Linked DNA regions of Homo sapiens: all the other regions are linked to region 1. Evidence: promoter capture Hi-C in 16 types of primary human blood cells and fetal thymus (Javierre and others, 2016). All regions are on one chromosome and are shown on one strand. Each heading gives the region's core, a stretch centred on a gene start or on the middle of the fragment in contact. The rest is flanking DNA. Distances are from core to core; before and after follow the strand shown. Region 1 holds the start of TAF1C (TATA-box binding protein associated factor, RNA polymerase I subunit C). Region 2 overlaps USP10 (ubiquitin specific peptidase 10). Region 3 overlaps USP10 (ubiquitin specific peptidase 10). Region 4 holds the start of USP10 (ubiquitin specific peptidase 10).

What was found. Contacts are between HindIII fragments. The CHiCAGO score rates a contact against its expected background, and 5 or more counts as called.
Region 2: a contact is called between a fragment that was not itself captured here and the fragment with the promoter of TAF1C in region 1, in 2 of 17 cell types (total CD8 T cells and naive CD8 T cells). The highest score is 5.6, in total CD8 T cells.
Region 3: a fragment that was not itself captured here is called in contact with the fragment with the promoter of TAF1C in region 1 in 3 of 17 cell types (naive CD8 T cells, total CD4 T cells and total B cells); the score reaches 5.9 in naive CD8 T cells.
Region 4: a fragment that was not itself captured here is called in contact with the fragment with the promoter of TAF1C in region 1 in 2 of 17 cell types (fetal thymus and total CD8 T cells); the score reaches 6.5 in fetal thymus.

The regions. Positions count from the first base shown.
Region 1 is chr16:84,184,084-84,189,326 of GRCh38, reverse strand. TAF1C (TATA-box binding protein associated factor, RNA polymerase I subunit C) reads left to right here and starts at 2,270. Exons shown (of 15, transcript NM_001243156.2): 1 at 2,270-2,426; 2 at 4,267-4,476. The coding sequence starts at 4,339. RefSeq lists a silencer at 2,075-2,284 and an enhancer at 1,930-2,430. The HindIII fragment of the contact is 17,434 bases long and covers 1,922-5,243 here.
Region 2 is chr16:84,730,466-84,735,922 of GRCh38, reverse strand. USP10 (ubiquitin specific peptidase 10) reads right to left here. Exons shown (of 14, transcript NM_005153.3): 2 at 2,420-2,488. LOC124903737 (a long non-coding RNA gene) reads left to right here and starts at 5,354. Exons shown (of 3, transcript XR_007065154.1): 1 at 5,354-5,381. RefSeq lists an enhancer at 1-492. The HindIII fragment of the contact is 1,351 bases long and covers 1,370-2,720 here.
Region 3 is chr16:84,748,926-84,754,209 of GRCh38, reverse strand. All of the region lies in intron 4 of USP10 (ubiquitin specific peptidase 10), which reads right to left. Among named protein-coding and RNA genes, the nearest start is that of USP10, 52 kb to the right of the region's middle. RefSeq lists an enhancer at 1,919-1,998. The HindIII fragment of the contact is 5,744 bases long and covers 1-5,284 here.
Region 4 is chr16:84,699,388-84,705,256 of GRCh38, reverse strand. It overlaps USP10 (ubiquitin specific peptidase 10), which reads right to left and starts at 5,257. Exons shown (of 14, transcript NM_005153.3): 1 at 5,146-5,257. The coding sequence starts at 5,166. RefSeq lists silencers at 4,686-4,795, 4,836-4,945, 4,956-5,175, 5,266-5,785. The HindIII fragment of the contact is 2,750 bases long and covers 1,235-3,984 here.

The DNA.
Region 1 (5,243 bases), core at 1,021-3,520:
GACTCGTGTGCTTTACTGCATGTTGAGTATATGTCAGTTACAAAAGCAAATTGATAATGGCTTATTCAGAGAAAGGAGGAAAGGAAGAAATGGAACTGGCCTCGCAGTGCCAAAGCTGGATAGGCGTTTTACAAGGGTAATGTAGAATATTAGTGTGGTAGGCAAAATAATGGTTCCCCCAAAGATGTCTACAGCCTAATCCCCAGAACCTATGAGTATATTATTTGGCAAGGGGGCATTAAGGTTGCAGGTGGAAGTAAGGTTGCTAATCAGCTGCCTTTAAAATAGGGCTCTCACCTGTAACCCCAGCACTTTGGGAGGCCCAGGTGGGAAGGTAGCTTGAGCCCAGGAGTTAGAGACCAACTTGGGCAACATGATGAAATCCCATCTCTACAAAAACTACAAAAATTAGGCCGGGCGTGGTGGCTCATGCCTGTAATCCCAGCACTTTGGGAGGCCAAGGCGGGTGGATCACATGGTCAGGAGTTCAAGACCAGCCTGGCCAATATGGTGAAACCCCGTCCCTACTACAAATACAAAAATTAGCTGGGTGTGGTGGCAGGCACCTGTAGTCTCAGCTACTCGGGAGGCTGAGGCAGGAAAATCGTTTGAACCTGGAAGGTGGAGGTTGTAGTGAGCCAAGATCACGCCACTGCACTCCAGCCTGGGTGACAGAGTGAAACTCTGTCTCAAAATAAAAAAAAAAAAAGAAAATTAGCCAGGCATGGTGGTGCTTGCATGTAATCCCAGCTACTCGAGAGACTGAGGTGGGAGAATCATCTCAGCCTGGGAAGTTGAGGCTGCAATGAGCCATGATGGTACCACTGCACCCTAGCCTGGGCGACAGAGTGAGACCCTGTCTCAAAAAAATAAATAAAACAAATAAAATAGGGAGATTATCCTGGATTACCTGGGCGGGCCTACTATAATCACATGGGTCCTTACATGGGAAAGAGGGAGACAGAAGAGTAAAAACCAGAGAGATGGCCTCATGAGAAGAATCCGACTGGCATTGCTGGCTTTGAAGATGGAAAGGGGTCATGAGCCAAGGAATGCAGGCAGCTTCCAGAAGCCAGAAAAGACAAGATAGTGGACTCTTCCTTAGAGCCTCTCAAAAGGAACACAGCCCTGCTGGCACTTTTAGTCCAGGTAAAAACTTCCAGATAAAAACAATATAGGCCAGGCGTGGTGGCTCATCCTGTAATCCCAGCAATTTGGGAGGCCTAGGCAGGCGGATCACTTGAGGTCAGGAGTTCAAGACTCAGCCTGACCAACATGGTGAAACCCCGTCTCTACTAAAAATACAAAAATTAGCCGGGCATGGTGGCGCAGGCCTGTAATCCCAGCTACTCGGGAGGCTGAGGCAGAAGAATTGCTTGAACCCAAGAGGCGGAGGTTGCAGTGTGCCAAGATCGTGCCACTGCACTCTAGCCTCCATCTCAAAAAAATAAATAAAGACATAGATGACAGCTGAGAATTTGGAAATTGATTCTTTAAAGCAACGGTTCTCAAAGTATGGCCCCTGGACCAGCATCATCTGGGAACTTGCTAGAAATGCAGACTCTTGGGCCACATCCCAGATCTACTGAATCAGCAACTCGGGGGGCAGAGGTAGGGTGGAGCCTAGCAAACTTGTAACAAGCCCCCCAGGTGGTTCTAAGGCTCACTGAAGTTTGAGAAGTACTATGTTAGGATAACGGTAAGGTTCATGACTGGACAGTGGTTCTTAAAGCATGGCCCCCAGATAAGCAGTTTCAGCATCACCTGGGAACTTAGGCAAATCATCAGGTCCCACCCCAGACTCACCGAATTGGAGACTGTGTTTTAACTAGCCCCCCAGGTGCTACTGCTGACGCACGCTAGCTAGAGTTTGAAGACCACTGCCTAAAGCTCTCCCTGCCTGACCACCCCTGGAAAAGCTTCACTCTTAGTAGGTATTTGTACCCTTATTTGTAAAGCCCGCTTCTTGGGATTTAAGGACAATCAGTAGGATACCTACTGACCAATACAGGTCTGGCTTATAGTAGGTGTTCTGTGGGAGTTCGTTAAATGATTAATTTAATACAACTCTGAGGAAATTGGTGAAGTAGATGTGGGATTCGAACCTAAGTCCACCCGGCCTCCACTATTGGGACTCAAGGGAGCTTTATTTCCGCTGCCCACGCGCCGCCTGCACGCCCGTTCCCTCTCCTCCCGGGAGGGGGCGCGCCAGGACCCTAAGAGGCCTGGCTGGGAGGCGGGACTTCCTGCCTCCGCAGGAGGCACTTCCGGTCCAAACCGGAAGACCGTGGGTAGCTGCGGCGGGGCTGACCCGTCCCGAGTGCCAAAGCTGGGGTTCTACTTGAGATTTCCCTCGTGGTGCCAGGGTCCGGCGAGCATCACGCCGAGGCCCATTTTCCAGACGACCACGACGAGGCCGGGGTCACGTAAGTGCACGCATGCGCCCCCTCCGCGCGGACTGCGCGTGTTCGAGGAGCGGACCCGCAGATGTAGGAGGGGAGGGACGCCCCCAATCCCCAGTCCCCGCGGCAGGCTCACGTTTCGCAGTCCCCGGCCTGTCGTTATTGCGGATCCGACTGAGTTCTGTAGCCTTGGAGGTCTAAAGGGTCCTGGAGAGCCCGCAGCGAGGGCGGGAAGCCGGCCGGGGAAGTCGAGGCTGCCTTGTCTGAGGGCTTTTGTGGGGTCGTGCTCTCCACCAGCGCCCTCCGCCTGTCTAGGATCGTTTCAGGCTATGCGGTTCCAAGAGAAAATATTTTTGTTTCTATTTTATTTTTGAGATAGAACCTTGCTCTGTCACCCAGGCTGGAGTGCTGTGGCATGATCTTGGCTCACTGCAACCTCTGCCTCCCAGATTCAAGCGATTTTCGTGCCCAGCCTCCTCGGTAGTTGCGATTACAGGTGTACACCACCACGCCCGGCTAATTTTTGTATTTTTAGTATTGACAGGGTTTCACTGTATTGGCCGGACTGGTCTCAAACTTCTGGCCTCAGGTGATCCGCCCGCCTTGGCCTCCCAAAGTGCTGGGATTGCAGGCGGGAGCCACCGCACCCGGCCAAAGGGAAAAGATTTTTGTATAGCGAGACTCTAATGCTAGCGTTTGCATTTCGGTGCATGCGAGAGCACTGGTTCGGAGCTCTGCCTCTGAATCGGATGGGAATCAAGTCTTGGCTGTGGCAGCTAAGAGCTGTTGGACTAAAGTTCTTGCTGAGCCTTCGTTTCCTGAACTCTGTTAACAGGGACGGCGATAGAAGAGTGCAGCATTTAGCATGTGCCTGGCAGATAGATGCTGGCGCTTGGTCAGCGAGCGCTGCTGTTATTTTTGCCCCTGTTATTTTTGTTAATTAAAAAGGAGGGATGCTATGGCTGCTCATACTTCTAGAGGACTGTATTTACCAAAGCCTTGTGATGTAATTTTTTTTTTTCTTGAGATGGAGTTTCGCTCTTGTTGCCCAGGCTACAGTGCAATGGCGCGATCTCAGCTCACCGCAACCTCCGCCTCCCGGCTTCAAGGAATTCTCCTGCCTCAGCCTCCCGAGTAGCTGGGATTACAGGCATGCGTCACCACGCCCGGCTAATTTTGTATTTTTAGTAGAGACCGGGTTTCTCCACATTGGTCAGGCCAGTCTCGAACTCCCGACCTCAGGTGATCCGCCTGCCTCGGCCTCCCAAAGTACTAGGATTACCGGCGTGAGCCACCGCGCCCGGCCCCTTGTGATAGAAATTTATTTTTTTCAACCCCTAGTGCATTTTCTGGGAGGCACTGTGCTTGACAGTAGGAAGACGATGCTCAGATGCAGTCCCTGGCTGTGGAGTAACTTGAGCGTCTTGGGGGTGTAGTCTGTAAATGTATGATGACGGTACTTACGAGCCGGGAGAGAGGCTGCCCCTTGCCGTCTTTCTGACTCCATCTCCACCGCTCTCCACCTCGCTCACTCTGGCTGCCTCATTTTCTCACACACTTCACTGCTCTAGGATTTTCACAGTTGTTGACCGTTCGGCCTGGAACCCTCTTCCCAGTTGCGTACATGGTTCTCTCCTTCACTAGGTTCAGGCTGTGCTCAAACGCCACCTTCTCAACGAGGCTTTTCCTGGCTGGCTTTGCTGAAACCACGCCCTCAGCCCACTACCAGATCCCCTTCTCCTGGACGGGTGGTTGGCTTTAATACAGTTCTCACTACTGCTTGGCCTTGGGCTACATATTTGTTTTTTGTTATCTGCTTCCTCAAAGAACATATGCTTCCCGTAGTGCACTTTTCACTCCTCAGGAACTCTGGCGCCCCTTACCAGCTTCCAGTCTCTCGAGGTGGCCAGTGTGGTGCTTGGTCCTTGTTTCCAGGATGGACTTCCCCAGCTCCCTCCGCCCTGCATTGTTTCTGACCGGCCCCCTTGGTCTGAGCGACGTCCCTGACCTCTCTTTCATGTGCAGCTGGCGAGACGCACTGACTCTGCCAGAGGCCCAGCCCCAGAACTCAGAGGTGAGGATGCAGGCAGGGGGCCCTGGCAGCTCCAGGGACATCCCTTCCCTGGGTCCCCCGTCTCACATTCACATCAGTTGACAAGGCCACAGAGTGGTGGCATTCACACGAGTCTGCTGAGACACAGGCTCTGCCACCTCCTCTGGGGTACATGGGCTACCCTGCCATCCCTAGACGGATGCCCCCACTATGCCGGGTCCCTTATGAGACCGTGAGAATGCTGCCTGAATCAGTCGGTTGACCCCTCCCTTCCTGGAACGGAGAGCTGAGTTGAGCGAGAATAAACAAGTGAACTTTATCCAATGGATAAGGTGTTTACAAAATGTGATCAGAGCTTGGAATGAAAGCAGAAGGATGCTGAAACAGCATAGTAGGGTTGGGAGAGGGGAGGATAGACCTGCAGGGTTTCTGCTGCCTCTGGAGGGACACTGGCCCTTTGCTTGGAATCCTCAGCCGCCTAGTTCCCCTTGGAAACACCCTGTCTGGGAATGAAGCCTGGCAGAGGCAAGTGGGTGAGCAAATAAAAAGAGAGACAGTGGAGCAGAGGCTTGGGGAACGGGGGTCAGGGATGGCATCCTTACGAGGGAGGGTCTGGCGTCAAATTGGGGCTCCTCTGGGAGTCTGGTTTCCTAGCTCTTTTGTCCCCTGAATGTCTGGGCCGAAACATCCCAGGCCAGCCCAGCAAAGGGAGGTGGAGCCGCCTGCCGGGCTCCCAGAGTGACTGCAAGGTCTCCTGAATGGAAGTGAGGTTACGTGAGATGTGGACC
Region 2 (5,457 bases), core at 796-3,295, 550 kb before region 1:
CATGTGCTATTATAATTCAGATTCCTGAAGATTGGGGAAAACAACTCCATCCGATTATGTTAATTAGCCTGCATTTCCCTTTTGCAGGTTACTGTGATTTTGATAAACTCTTTTTATACCCCTCCAAACTTCACCGTATGTTAAAAAATAAGAAAAACAGAAAAGCCCAAATAAGCCCACACACACTACGAGTTCTGAAGCTTGAGCTCATTTTCATGAGACACAGTCACGTCTTCTGTGAATAAAAGGTTTGGCATAACTTACCATCTGTACCCTTTTCATCCATTTCTACTAACATCTGTTACTCACTAGTTATCGGACCATACATTAGCTGATTTCCCAACATTTCTGTGACGTGAATAAGCATTCTGCATTTTTTCAATTTAAAAAACAAAAGAAAGAGAAAAGAAATGGGAGGCCCAAAAGGAAAGAACGTGCCCAAACCCTCCGAGCCTGTGGAAGTGGCAGAACTGAAGCGACCCCAGGCCTTCAGACTTGAAATACGGTGCACTTTTCACTTTCCTATCACATGAAAACTCAAGTTTTTGTCTACTCACTTGCAAACAGGTACCCACCCATCCACATGTGTACACACTTGAGAAAACCTGTAGCAACTAAAACGTATGGTTACATCAGTGTGATGTGGGAAAAAATACAAAATCCCCTTACTTAAAAACACACACACCACACACACACACACACACACACACACACACACACACACACCACCCGGGCCTGGCAGCACACACCTGTAATCCCAGCTATTCAGGGGCTGAAGCATGAGAACCCCCCTGAGGCGGGGCGGGGGGTCAAAGTTGCAGTGAATTGTGATTGCACTCTGCACTCCAGCCTGGGCAGAGTGAGACCCTGTCTCGAAAAAAAGAAAAGAAAAGAAAAAATAGAAATAAAAAAATAAAATAAAACGTGTGGTGTTTATACAGAGATAAGCAATAGGCCCACAGAATAGCACACTCGGAACCAGGGGAGATGCACTGCCCAACGGGGCTGACAGGACAGCTAAGGGCCGAGTTCCCAATGAATGGTGAGGAGGCACCTGCCAGGGCCACAGGGGCAGGGAGTTCGATGCCACCTCACACATATACAAAATTCAGTGCCTCAATTTCAGCTTATTACACACTGAAGCGTGAAAACAAAATCTGAAAACTTTTAGAAGAAAACAGACAAATATCTTCGTTATCTAAAGGATGGGAAGAATTTCCTAAAGATATTTTTAAAACTAAAAATCCACAAACTATAAGGAAAAAAAAATCAATTCAGTTGACATTAAAGTTGAAAGTGTACTCCTCTTATCCAACAACAACAACAAAAAAACCCAACCCCAAAAAGGGTTCACCTAACATGTGAAGCTTAAAGCCCTCATGCTAGGAACAGATGCCTGTAAAACCAAAGATTAATCCTAAAATCAGTAAGAAAAAGACAAGCTACTTGATTTAAAAATATGGACAAGGGATATAAACCAAGTAATTCACAGCAGAGGACATCCGTATTGCCAGCAGACGTGAAGAGAATGAAATAGTACCCAGCTGTTTGTAATCTGGGAGATGTAAATTAAAACAATGAGAGTCCATTTACTACACACATCAGATTCACAAAATTTTAAATATGCCAACACCAAGAGTTAGCAAGATTTTTTTTTTAATACGAGCAAGAAAACTCCCATGCACTGCTGATGGGAATGAAGACTGTTAAAATCCTAGATAGCAAACGAGCAGTCTCTAGTGAAACTAAAGAGGCTCGGTCCACAGAACCCAGTAATTCCATTCCCAGGTCTGTGTCCCGGAGGAGCCCACAGAGGGGCACCAGGAGACATGATAAAATACATTGAGTGCAATATTTTTAACGGCTGAACTAGAGACCTAAATGGCCCTCGACAGGAAAATATGTAAGTAAATTGCAGTGTGTTCAATCAGTGGTACTGAGCACTGGAAATCAAAGAACAAGGACAAATTTCTTAGCATAAAGAATACAACGTTAGCTTAAAATAAACGACAAACTGAATATAGTATACCATTTACGTGACACTTTAAAGCACATAAAACACTACGATTGACTATGGTGATATACACGTATATGATAAAAGGTGAAAACCAGTCAGGACCAATATTTCCCAATTTCAGCAGAGTAGTTACTTCTGGGGAGAGATGGGAGAGAGGTCCAAAGGAGGCTTCAGTTGCATCTGTAATGTTTTATTTGCTTTTCAAAGCCTAATAAAGTAAATACAGCAAAATGTCAAATCAAATGTCAGTCAAATCTAGTTGGTGGGTTGAGGCATTTCTCATATTAGTCTCCATACTTTTCTCTACATTGGAATTCTTTATTTAAAAAAACAAATTAAAATAGAAACATAACTATTAATTGTATCTACCCACGGACTCACTAAAACAAAGTTTTGTCTTACCTCAACTGAAGATCGAGGAGTCACAAAGAATTGATTGAATTCATCAGGGCTAAAATCTCCAAAAATATACTGAAAAAAAATAAGAGAGTCACTGATCACATAAAATATACAAATTATATACTTTCAGAAAAAATGCTACATATTTTAACAATCCTATGCAACATTTGGGCCATAACCCCCAAGATCCTTTCTCAATTAAACAGAGGATCTGCAACTCAGAGTTCTAGGTTGTTTATATAAAAGAAATACTACTGAACCTTTCCTACAAATTGTCAAAGAACACTATGAAACTGATAAAGCTTATTTTGAAACAAATCAATTTTGTATGCCAAACTTGTCGAGTCCTGCTTGCAGGAGATTTTTATTGGTTCACAAATACTGCCAGTTGTTCCATTTACCTTTCTGCTGACTCATGCCACTACCTCCATTTCCGCTTTCTCTGCCAAACATACTAAAGAAAAGCAGAAAACGTGGTTCAAATGGGAAGACAAGGAAATCCAAAAAAGGAAAATGTTAATGATCCTGATTAATGATCTTTAAAAATATCTATATAACTTCTTAGTTTAAAAATGCATTTCCATAGGATACACAGATACACATATTATCAGACAGACACAGCCCTTGTTGCAAGCCTGATTTCACGGAATTCAGAATGTGATTTTCTGGAAAACGAAGTGGTTAAACTGCACGGATGTGAGTCTGGCAAGTGCCTACCAGTTCATATTCTCCATGGAGCTTCAAGAAACAAGTCATTGAGGCCTGGCGCAGTAGCTCACGCCTATAATCCCAGCACTCTGGGAGGCTGACATGGGCGAATCACTTAAGGTCAGGAATTCGAGACCAGCCTGGCCAACATGGTGAAACCCCCATCTTTACTAAAAATACAAAAATTAGCCAGGCGTGGTGGCGTGTACCTGTAGTCCCGGCTGCTCGGGAGGCTGAGCCAGGAGAATTGCTTGAACCAGGGAGGCCGAGGTTGCAGTGAGCTGAGATCGCGCCACCGCACCCCAGCCGGGGCGACAGAGCCAGACTCCATCTCAAAAAGAAAAAAAAAAAAAAGAAGAAGAAGAAGTCATTGAGAAGAATTAGCAATTTCCACAACGGAGAAGCAATGATTCATTCATTTAATCAATAATTATTTAGAACCTACAAATGCCCACGTATGATCAGTACTGGGTATAAAAATGGTAAGCAGAGTGTGGTTCCTCTGTTCTAATGGAACTAAACAGTCTAGTAGCTTCCAGGGAAATTTACAAGCCAAGTGATTCAAAAATAACCAGTAACTAAATATTACATAAATGAATAATACTCATTATTATTGTAAATGTGAATAAATGGCCACTAAATGTAATACCCTCCTGGTAAGAATGCACAGGGAAAACGTTTCTGGAGAGCTCTTTGACAACATCTACCAAAACTATAAATATACATTAAGAACAAAAAAGTTTTCATATAATATTTACATATACTTGCAAAAGTCAACAAAGAAATTATGTATTGACAGTAACAGTGAAAATAAACAGAGCCTCAAAATGGTTCAGAAATGATCTTCTGAAATACTGTCACTTTTCAGTGAAGAATATAGAAGGTTACACCTTCTTCTCATCACCAACACTGGGAAAAGATGATATGAATTTCACTAAGAAACCCTCAAAGCAATGGAAGGGAAAATTCTATAGGCTAAAAGGAAGCAGAAAAAATTAGCACAGACTATCACAAAAAAAAAAGAGCTATCAGAGATCATGAAAGTGTTCGCGGAAATTAATTACTAATTTTAAATCACTAAATTAAAAAACTCAACAGAACGTCTTAATAGCAAAATCAACAAGGCTATGGAAGGCAATGGGGCAACATTTTGAAAGTTTCGAGAAAAAAGGATTTTGTTCCTAGAATGCCAGAGTATTTTTTCATAGAATTCTATAAACTACTTTTCAAGTGCAAAAGAGAAAGAACACTTTCTGTCACATACACCTTTTTCTTGGGGGGAGGAAAGGAAACTGCTTAAGAATTCCAGAAAATGAATTCGAGAAATACAAGAATGATAAAGAAGTAAAATACAAGAAACACACGGCAGCTGTGAAGTTTAATGCAAATATTAAGAATAAATAAACTAAAATCATGCTGTTTTGTTTAATATCAATAGTAGAAACGTGGCTACTCTGTGCACATTGCCTATGGCGTAGCCCTGCTCTGCAACGAGCAGTTAAAAAAAAAAAAAAAGTAGAGGCCGGGAGCGGTGGCTCACACCTGTAATCCCAGCACTCTGGGAGGCCGAGGTGGGCGGATCATGAGGTCAGAAGATCGAGACCATCCTGGCTAACACGGTGAAACCCCGTCTCTACTAAAAATACAAAAAATTAGCCGGGCATGGTGGCATGCACCTGTAGTCCCAGCTACTCAGGAGGCTGATGCAGGAGAATCGCTTGAACCCGGGAGGTGGAGGTTGCAGCAAGCCGAGAATGAGCCACTGCACTCCAGCCTGCTGACAGAGAGAGATTCCGTGTCAAAAAAAAAAAAAAAAAAAAAAGGTAGAAATGCTATATATTAAAAGTTATCCATTTTATCTTATGACTAACAAGAAAGGCCTTTTACTTCAGAATGTGGGGAAGATACCTAAGGATAAGAAATCAGAATGTTCTGCAGGATTATCAGGTATTTTCTTTAGGAAGGTTTTCTTCCTAGACAATGGAAAATAAAAATGTTTATTTAAATCATACTTCTAAGCACACTTTCTTATTTCAGTTCATATACAGCCTAAAGTTTTTAGAGCTGGTCAATCCAGTAAGAACACTACAAATCCAAATGATTTGATAAAAATCTTGGCAGCAGAGGAGGAGAGGAGGAGAAAACAAGATTCCAAGCCACTAACACACACTTCCTGTTTCAAACGCAGACACCAAGTGGCTTCAGCATGAGTCAGCGGCAAACACCCTCAAGTCATGAGCTGGAACGCTCAGAAACGGTTCACTGAGTTTTTTTTCTCCTATTATTTTCAAATTTATTAGTTTTACTTAATTATTTTTAAAGTATCTGAGAAA
Region 3 (5,284 bases), core at 1,389-3,888, 560 kb before region 1:
AGTAAGACCGACAGAAGGCACTCAAGATTCTCCACACTGTCTCCACAGTAGCTGACCTCATCACTGCCTACCTGATATTAGTGCTGTGTGCCTCCTTCTCTGGACAGGAGGCTCCTTAAAGACAAGACTCTCACACTTCAACTGCTCAACAAAGTCCGCACCATCTAAGGTAACAGGACTTGGTGGCCTTTTGTGTCCTCAGCCTGTTACTGCCATCCCTACTAGCTGCATGAGGCCTCCCCTCCTTGCTTTCTCCCCTCAACACCCCTCTGCCAATGATCACTTCTCCCTACAAACAGCTGCCATCTGTTCCTTTCTGATCTTATGCCTTAGACTACCCTGAAGGCAAGGCCAATCATTACTCCAACTAGACAGTGCATGGCATACAGTAAGTTCTCATTAGACAGTAATACAGGATCAATTAAACATCTGGAGATTAAAGTTGTTGGTTACGGCAAATGACTCCACTCATATTTGTTAGAAATGACTCAACAGACTTTAAAGGTCATTTAGCTCCTGGTCCAGAAAGTCTAAATGACAGCTCCTGAGAAGACGCACAGTAAAGGGCAAGGGCCCAGGCACACAAACCAGGAAGACGGGGGTTCGCGCCCTGGCTCTGCCACTTCATTCATTGTGCGGCAGATCACTCCGCACCTGGAACAGGTAAGGAGCTGCACCACGCTCAGCTATAGCAAAGATGAGCACGCATGTAAATACATAAGCAGACCACTCCCGGCATGACGGCCAGCTCAATACAGACATCAGAATCCCCCCTAGAAAATAAAGAGCTAATAGAGGTGGAAGGAGAAGGGAAAAGCAAATGAATTTATGTGAGAGTCTGAGAAAACCAACAACTTTCAGCATCCCAAGAGGAAATGTTAGCCCAACTTCCTTAAAATCTTGACAAGTTTTAAACATCTTGACATATTAAAGATATATTAATAAAGTTCTATTTCAGGCAACACTTTGGGAGGCTATGGCAGGAAGATCACTTGAGTCCAGGAGTTCCAAGATCAGCCTGGGCCACACAGTGAGACTCTGTTGCTATGAAAAATAAAAAATAAAAAATAAAAAAATTAGCTGTACATGGTGGTGCCTGCCTATAGTCCCAACTACTCAGGAAGCTGGGGCAGGAAGACCACCTGCGCCTGAGAGATCAAGGCTGCAGTGAGCTATGATCATGCCACAGCACTCCAGCCTGAATGAATGAGCAAGACCCTGTTTCTTAAGAAAAAAAAAATACGTTTTTAAAAAATAAAGCTCCATTTTAAGAGGAATGATTGTAAGAAATGAAGATTAAATACTTATTGTCAAAGATTTTCTCTTAAGATCCAAACACTCAAGAAACATTTAAGGTCCACTTTTGTAACATCTCACACGTACACTAAGCCTTCCATCCTGACTCATTTCGATAACCATCAACTGGAGGAGACACTAACGCTTTATGAAGTTCGTGAGCTCCTCTTCTTCCTCGCAGTGAAAAAAACAGGGGTGCAAAAGCAGTTCTAATTCCTCCTAAGACCAGACCGAATTATGTTCAAGTGAATGAATCCTATTGTTATCATGCAAAAGTCAGGTCTTACGGACAAGCCAGAACTAATACCACTTCCAAATTTCTAATATCACTCTTCGCTCTATTTAAATTCCTCTTTCAACATCAACATTTTCATTTACAATGTTATTCCTAGCCTAAAGTCCAATACGCATTCCAATTATGGAGGCTAAAAGAATAAAAATGAGGAAGGCGGGCCACCAAGGATAGAGGGCAGGCAACTTCTAGGTTGAAACTTGACCTGCATTCCAAAGTCATTGCCATTGGTGTATCTATTTTACCTTCTTTAAGGGCATATAATAGAAGTTGGCTCTAATAACAAACTTTCCCCAGAAGCCTTCTTTTCAATTCATCATGGTTGGTATAATTTACTACTTAACTGTTCAGACAGCAACTTTAGGAAGATGGCCTCCCCCAGTCCATCTTTGTCACAGGAGTTGGTGGGGCTGCCTAGAACAATGTGTGAGAAAAGGCACAAAATGCCAGAATGACTCATAAAAGACACAAAATTGAAACCTGTAGTTCACTTTTGTAATAACTCACATGAAAAGGCTGAACTGAAATTTCACTCTTATGAAATCTGCTGACATACAGAAAAATGGAGTTGCTTAATAGCCTTTTTTCAAATTTTAAGACATACATGCTAGATGGTAGCTCACAAGGGCTGCCACAAATCAGCCCACTGAAATTGTTTATCAACTCAAAGGCAATACCAGCATCGTAAACTTTTATGTCATCATAAGCTATGATTATTCTTACACATATTTTACACATCAAATTCTGTTTTCCTAAAATTAGGACTTAGGGGTCATATTAACATTGAAAATCCCTGAAAATGCAAGGTACAGAACTCTGATTCTTAGGGCTCAATAACTGGCCCGTAATCGACATTCTGGTGTTGTTGACCTGCTTTTCTGTCATCATTCTAACTGTCCAGAACATTCTCCAAGTGCTTTTCTTTTCCTCATTACCATCAATTTGGAAGAACACACACTATCTTGGTTATCTAACCAGGTGGAGGACAGCAAAGTGACCAAAATGTACCACTACCCATTGACTACAGATCAACTTATGTTTCTGAAGTGGAAAGATGTATAATAAATGTGAGGCTACAAACATCGAATCAGATGTGGACTAAACTCTCAGTCCACAAGGGTGGATCCCGGTAAACAGGTGCCACGCCTTTTTAACTTAGATCACGCCGCATGACCACTGCCTGTGTACTTCAGAGTTTGAAGAGGAAGTGCAAAATATCTGAGAAACCATTTCCCCCAAGGAGCGGGGGGAAATATATGCATGATTTATAAACTGCCAAAATAAAGATCAGTTTTAGGATACACAGCCATGCTTAATGATGGGGATATGTTCTGAGAAATGTGGCATTAGGCAATTTTGTCATTGTGGGATCACATGCCTAGATGGTATAGCCAACTACACACCTGGGCCATATGCTAGAGCCTATTGCTCCTAAGCTACAAACCCGTACAGCATGTTGTGTACTGAATACCGTAGGCAACTGTAACACAACTCACTGGTCACTAGAAATTGTTTAGCTCCATTATAATCTTATGGGACCACTGTCGTACATGCGGTCTGTTGTTGACTGAAACATCATTAAAGCAGCACATAACTGTATGTTCATTTACACTTAAATAAACACGGACAGGGTAATTCATTAGAGAAGACCCAAATTGTAATAACTTTGTTTCTTGATCCAATGCCTTTTAGGTATAAAACCACTGTGAAAAATCATATAAACAGGTTTTGACTAACAATTCATAATAAATGACATTGCTAGATACCTCAACGCAATGTTTTCAGAGCTGTTCAAGAGCTCAGTTTTCCTAGTTCTCTCTCACTGGAATTTTAACTTATCGGGCAGTTGGCCACTCTTCTTACCCAGCATTATTTATATTCTGTTAAAACAAAATATACTGTTGCATAATTTTGAAAGCAAAACATCAAATACAAAATGGCTCTATTTGTGATGTGAAAGCATCTGATACAATTTCGTCTAGTATATGAGGAATGTTCCTTAGTAAAGACCCAGGAAAAGTACAATGTTCAATGAAAGCATACGTTCAATTTCAAACGTCACATGTTCGTCAACTCCAAAGTATCTGTGCTAATGAGGGAAGCAGCAGCAAAGGCACTCCCCACGTGTCTGCCATACTCACTCTTAACAAGGGTGTCGCGTTTTGCAACTACTTTCAAACACAAGCTATTAAGTTTTGGGTTTTTTTTTTTTTTTTTGAGACAGTCTCACTCTGTGGCCCAGGCTGGAGTGCAGTGGCACGATCTGGGCTCACTGAACCTCCACCTCCCCGGTTCAAGCTATTCTCCTGACACAGCCTCCTCAGTAGCTAGGATTACAGCCATGAGCCACCACGTCCATCTAATTTTTTTATTTTTAGTAAAGATGGGATTTCCCTATGTTGGCCAGGCTGGTCTTGAACTCCTGGCCTCAAGGGATCCACCCACCTCAACCTCCGAAAGTGCTGGGATTACAGGCGTGAGCCACTGTGCCGGGCTGTATTAAGTTTCCTTTTGTTGACTCCTACTGATAAATGGCAACCATCTCCTCTCAGACCAGTCACTGAAACACAGATCCCTCTCCAACCCTCGGCAAGACAGGGCTTTTGTGTTTAGATACATCCTTCCCTTGGGGCTAAAGGAAATCACTGAGTATTCAGTTCACACGCTCTCCCCTGGCGTGTCCTTCTCCTTTCAAATAACAGTTCACACTTGAAAAACAGCCAATGGAACAAAATGTTGACACATAACCTACACCGAGGAGATGGCCTTGCCACCAAGAAGGTCCAAGTAGAACCCGTTAAAGTGGATAGTTTAAGAGTAATCAAGAGTTTAATGTATTTCACTTCAAAATCCCTTATACGTGATTCTTTTAGTCCATCTGCCTTCTTAATTTCACTTCTGATGGCATAAAAACTAGCTGGCATTTATTAAGCAGACTTAACAATAGGGGAAATAGTCCAGAAATGTGAGTATTTGAAACAAACTTGAGATAAAAAATACACAAATTATTCCAAGCATTTTGTGTGTGTATAATTTTTTTTTTTTTTAAAGATGGGGTCTCAGTATGTTGCCCAGGCTGGCCTCGAACTCCCGGGCTCAAGTTATCGAGCCTCAAGCCTCAATCTCCACACTATCATGCCTGGCAGAAAGGAATACATTTAATGTCTAAATCATTCCCTACTCCCTCTTTCCCAAAAGTTAATAACACAAATACCACTGTCTCAGTAGAAACAGTTAGATACTAATGCAAGTCAAACTCTATTATAACCCACATCAACAGATCTTTTAATGAAACTAGACTTTCACTCAGTTAAACGCTGCTTAAAATAAGTGGGCCTACACTTAAAAGTGTGCCCACTAAAGGGAATTTGTGGTAGTGGATCTGACTTGTAACAAACTGAGTATGTTTTACCACTTTTATAAAGTAAATCCCTAAGTAGGAGAATAAAACAACAAAAAAAATTTCAAACAATGCCATTCTCCCTAAGCCCTATATGATCCCAAGGGTTATTCAATGTGACTCTATTGCTCTACTATCTCACGAGACTCCTGAAACTGTCAACAACTACGTTCTGTCTATCGAAGCCTCAACAAACAGGCTGAAAAGAATTATATATTTTTAAAGAAACTACACTTTTGCTCAGAAAATTAAAACATCTTCATAACTGACCTAACCAAATAGGATTAAAAAAATAA
Region 4 (5,869 bases), core at 1,360-3,859, 520 kb before region 1:
CCGTCTCAAAAAAAAAAACAAACAAAAAAAACAAGGCACAGGAGTGGGGACACTCACCTTTTTATTAGGGATACTCTCACTTCAAAATGGACTGGTTTTGAGACTCCTGAGCCATAGAGTACAGGCTTAAGGAGATGTCCCTCCAGCTAATACCAGAAAAATAAACTGAGAATGGATCCGAAGAATGACAACCGATAAGGCTGTACACACAAGCCCAACGGGGAGGAGACTGAGGACTCTTAGGAGCAGCCACCATTACAGCGCAGACGGTAGCAGGTGCTGGGCCCGCACTCCACATGCACATTCTCCTAACAATTCTCATGTGAGCCCAAAAGGGAAAGTCGAGGAATTCAGGCTGTAACAGCCCCAAACCACATTTCTATCTCAACACCTTACCTGCCCTATTCCAGGAGAGGGCAACCAGGGCATGATGTTTCAAGACGGGACAGAATGGCAGTGCTGGTAGAGCTTCTGGGTTCTCAAGTCATCTGATGAAAATGGGATCATGGCCCAGGAGCTTTCAAATAGCCAGAAAATAGCCAGTTCAGAAAAAATCTAGGATCTGAAGATTCTACATCGAGGTTTATGATAAATTCTACATTTTCTGATCCTTGAAACAAATACTATACACATACCCCAAGGGCTACCTTTATTTTCCTACACTAATTCTTCATCCAGCCTGTATTGACAGAAATGGTCAAAGAAAGACCTTTTGGGAGAACACTTCAATAAACAGGAAAACTGCAGTCCAAGCACATACAAGTCTCTGGAAATGAACATCTACACTGCTGAAGTGGCACTAAAGTGACAAATGACAGTAATCCAATGGCCCAAGGCCAGCAAATTCCATTGCAAACAGATTTATCTGTTTTGTGCGATGGTGATTCTTGCATGTGTGGCAGTAAATAGAAAAGTAACAGCCTAATTACAAATTCAAAAGCAAGCTCTTCCCACTACGTTTCATATTTTGGTATAGTACCAGTAATAAGTGTCCTCAGCAACCACGTTTAATGTGCCACCTGAATACCAGGAACCATTAACAGGAAGTACCTACATGTCTGAAATTATATCTTTAAAAACAAACAAACAAACAAAAAACCGAAACAAAAACCCTGATGTAACTAATTCAATTGGAGATGATACCACTTTTCTCAATTACTTGAATGTTATATTCTGAGCACAGCACAGTGCAACGTGCCGCTTAGGCTTGGCATTAAACAGCAATCATTAAGCTTCGTAATCCTTTTCTCCTTTAAGTTTTCCTATGTGAATCACTGCTTAAATCCTATCAGTTCCACGTAACAGAACACTGGAATACATGTCCTAACTTTTGCTTTAGTGAGGAATTTAGAATGTGGTAGGCCCGCTTAGTATTCACTGGAATTTCAGTGCGCTGTGCTCTCAATGAGATGGGCTCAAGAGCATGATGGTGAGGTCCTGGTACGGCGCGGCTGCTCAGGCCATCTGTACAAACCACTAAGGCGACCACTGGCTCACAAACTTCTCAGGCCATCTGTACAAACCACTAAGGTGACCACTGGCTCACAAACTTAAAACATCTACTCTTAGGACATGTTTAAATAGCTTGCTGTCACTATGCAAAGGAAAACTGTTATCTCCAAATGCCCTGTCAACATTTCAAACAATTGTATTTACTTCAGCTGCTCATTACTTGAGATTCTAATAAAAATGTATCTCTTTTAAGAATTAACACTAATCCAGCTGTTGGCTAGAAACAGATATTCAGCAATACAGTAACATTCAGCCATATGCTAGAGGGGGAATCCAAGACTTTCCATCATGTAAAATGTGGAGGATCTGCTATTACAAGCTAAAAAAGAGACTGGGGTGAGTCTATGCAGAGACAAGGACAGAAGCCAACTGCATGACATTCAAATTGGGTGTAGGAAGCATTATTGTGGAGATTTCACTATAAATGACATCAATAATCACAAATATTTTTTCGGTGTAAGGCAAAACTAATAGCTTCAAATTAATTACCCCAAATAATTTAACCGGTCCCCTCAGTGACAAGGATATTCACTTGGACCTACACTTCAACTGTTAAAGTTCATTTATTTGTCTTTGCTAAAATGCTGAGTTACCGGTCTCAAAATGTTTCCAAATTCTTCACTATTACACTTCAATACAGGTAACAGGGATCAACCAACACTTTCTAATATTTGGAAATAAGGTTATTAACCTATAAACTTTTTTATTTATTTTGAGATGGAGTTTCGCTCTTTTTTTTTTTTTTTTTTTTGAGACGGGAGTCTTGCTCTGTCGCCCAGGCTGGAGTGCAGTGGCATGATCTCGGCTCACTGCAACCTCCGCCTCCCGGGTTCAAGCGATTCTCCTGCCTCAGCCTCCCAAGTACCTGGGACTACAGGCGAGCTTCACCACACTCGGCTAATTTTTGTATTTTTAGTAGAGACAGGGTCTCACTATATTGGTCAGGCTGATCTCGAACCCCTGACCTCAAGTGATCCACCCACCTGCGCCTCCCAAAGTGCTGGGATTACAGGCACGAGCCACCGCGCTGGCCTGTAAACATTTTTAAACTGTAACTTTTTCCACCTCCCATTATTCTCAGTGACAAATTTAACTTTAACAAGTCAATTTTAAAATAAGACCTTCAATTTGCAGTTGTTATTCCCAACATAAACAAGTAATATACATACCATGACGCTTAATATCTGATAAACAATCAGTATTTGCTGAATGAATGAATGGCCATTAAGGCTGCAAGACTCTTAGGACAGTAGGCAACCAAGTAAAACAAATTTATTAAAACGCTCAGAATGACTGGAGCAGGAACCAGTAACTAAATCCTGTCATACATGATTCCATTACTTGTTTGCATTACTATTCTTTTAAAATGAAAATTATGAGAAATCGGCCAGGCGCAGTAGTGGCTCACGCCTATAATCCCAGCACTTTGAGAGGCCGAGGCGGGTGGATCACCTGAGCTCAGGAGTTTGAGACCAGCCTGATCAACATGGTGAAACCCGTCTTTAATAAAAATACAAAAAATTAGCCAGGCATGGTGGTGGGCGCCTGTAATCCCAGCTACTTGGGAGGCTGAGGCAGGAGAATCGCTTGAACCCGGGAGGCAGAGGTTGCAGTGGGCCGAGATCATGCCACTGCACTCCAGCCTGGGCGACAGAGCAAGACTCCCGTCTCAAAAAAAAAAAAAAAAAAAAAAAAAAAAGAGCGAAACTCCATCTCAAAATAAATAAAAAAGTTTATAGGTTAATAACCACAGCACTCCAGCCTGGGCAACAAGAGCCAAATTCCAACTCAAAAAAAAAAAAAAAAAGAAGAAGAAAATTATGAGAAATCAAACTATTTCCTTTGCTACTTTCTCCATGCTAAAACTTAAAAGCATTTAAATCATACTTTAAAAGAATAAACCCAAAGTGTTGCTAACATTTACGTTCCGCCAACTTTTGCTACTCCAATTTTCTAAAGATGTGTATAACGCTTTAGACTGTTGTATAAAACGTAAATACTGGGACAATGAATGCAAACGAAATTACAATTAAGTTTACATATTATCCATCCCCATTAATTAACATTTCAATCAACCTTGAATTGTGATTGATGCTTATTAAATAAAGGAAGTGAGCTATGCCTAAAGATGCTTTCTTCATGTCAAAATCACAAGGAATATTACACATTAATTCATAATGAGCCTTTTACTTGTTCATACCAATTCTAATAAGCTAGTTAATTAGGATTTAAGTTGAGAAAAAAGCAAATATCAAATCTTTTTTTTTAACAGAAAGGTCTAAACAAAGCTAAATACACCAAATCTCTTAAAATCTTTGGGCTATACATTTGTAAAAATTATTCAACTACTGATCCCTTTTTTGGCGCAAAGACCTACACTACTTACAAAAGTAAATGAATAAGGGAACAAAACGTTAAAGGGGGAAATTCTGATGCAAACTAAACTACAGCTAATTTAACAAAATTGAAGCTTGTCGTAAGATCTAATTTTTTAAAAAGTTTTCGCATTTTAGATTCCACAACACGCATTCATTACAATAGTTCCGAAAATCATGTTTCAAAAGAGGTGTAGTCAGATTGACTTCATCTGCAGAAGGGCAACAAAACCCAATTGCTCATGAAGGGTTATGATTTTACTCGCAATCAGTTTCCCGAATGGCTACTTTGTTTCATTTCCCCATATTTAATACAAATACACAATGAGATGGTTTAAAAGTGTGCAACAATTTATAGGGACCAGATGTCAACAAATTAGCAGTCTAAAGCAAGGCTGACAAATAATACATCATGCCGATTTTTGTCCAGAATAATTATAATGGCGGAGGGGGGAGAAGATGTGAGAGAAGGGGTGGGAGAGGGGAATAAGAGCTTAACTCTACACGCACATCTCCCAAAAAGAGCTCTTTCTTTCCACCACGGGATTATTGTAAAGGGCCCCCAAGCTTTAGCTACTGTTCAGGCAGGGTGCGTTAGTTGTCAGCCTGGCTGGGATGGATTCGTGCAAGGGATGTCACTCAAACGCAAGTGAAAGTACGGTCCTTGCGACTTATTTCGAGTTTTCTTTGCAACAGCAGCCCAAGGCCGCTACTCTGCTACTTCTATCTAAAAAACAGAAAATCGGCAACCCCCGCATCATCAATCAAGCTGAGAAAGGAAGCTCTTGGGGCAAAGGGGCAACAGGGCACCCCCAAATCTCTGAGGCTCGCTCCAGGCAGAGGCAGCAACCTGAGCTGCTCTGGGGCCCCTGCGCTCCAGGGGACTCCCGGAGCCCCCGGGCCGCCTCCCCCGGCCGGCGCGGCGGGGAGGGCCCCACTCCACACCCCGGGCTCGCCCCGCGGTCCAGCCCCAGGGAGGTTAACCCCTTCGGCGCCCTCCACGCCCTCCCCAAGCGGGGCCCGGAGCCCCCGCCCTTCGACCTCCCCGGGACTAGGGGGTCCGGGTGGCTCAGGGGACGAAGGCGCGGCGGGCGCGGAGGCGGCGGGTGGCTCCGGCCTAGGCCCGGGCAGCGTGTCCCAGCGCCCTCCCCCACTCCCACACGCTCGCTCCGGGCAGGGCGCGGACGCCCGCCCGCCGCGGCGTCCGCCCGCCCGGGGCTCGGGCCCCTTCCGGCCGAAGGCGCAGACCGGCGGCTACCTGCGGGCTGTGGAGGGCCATGGCTGCCCGTTTCATTGGGACTCCGCGATCCTCCGGCTGCTCACGCTGCTTCCCCCGCCGCCGCCATCTTCTCGCCCGCACATACACACTCGCATCGGCCGCCGCGCCTGCGCACTGGCCGCGCGCCGCGGGGCGCGGGGAGGCCGGCCCGCTGCTGCGCCTGCGCGGCCGACAGGTGGGCGTGCGCCTGCCGGGCCGCGGACATCCCCTGCCCCGCCTGGAGCCTGCCGGACTCTGAGCCCCGCGACCCTCGGGCGGAAGCGGCCGGGCGGCTGCACACCAGGAGCCCGCCGAGGCCTGGCTGTGGATCCGGAAGGGGAGAGGGCAGGCAGGTAGAGGTGGCAACGCCAAGGCGCCGGCGGGCCCGGCTCCTCACCTACTGGGGGCCACCTGGGCCCCCGGAGCCCGGGAGTCGCGGGCTGAGGTCGGCCTGGGGCCCACGAGCCGCCCTCAGCGTACCTGGGCCCGGGCCTCGGGAGTGTTCGCATTAGATCCCCGAGGAGGGTCTGGTTTATGAAGATCCCGTTGCCGCGCATTCATTCATTTGTTCACTCTTCATTCACTCCCCAAGTCCTGCCTGGGCGCCTGGGCCACGCCTTTGGCTAGGCATTAGGGGAAAAAAGCAAAACAGACAAAAACAAAACGTAGGGCATAAAAGCACGCGTAAAGTGCTTGACATGAGGCCTGGCAAGTAGCAAACACT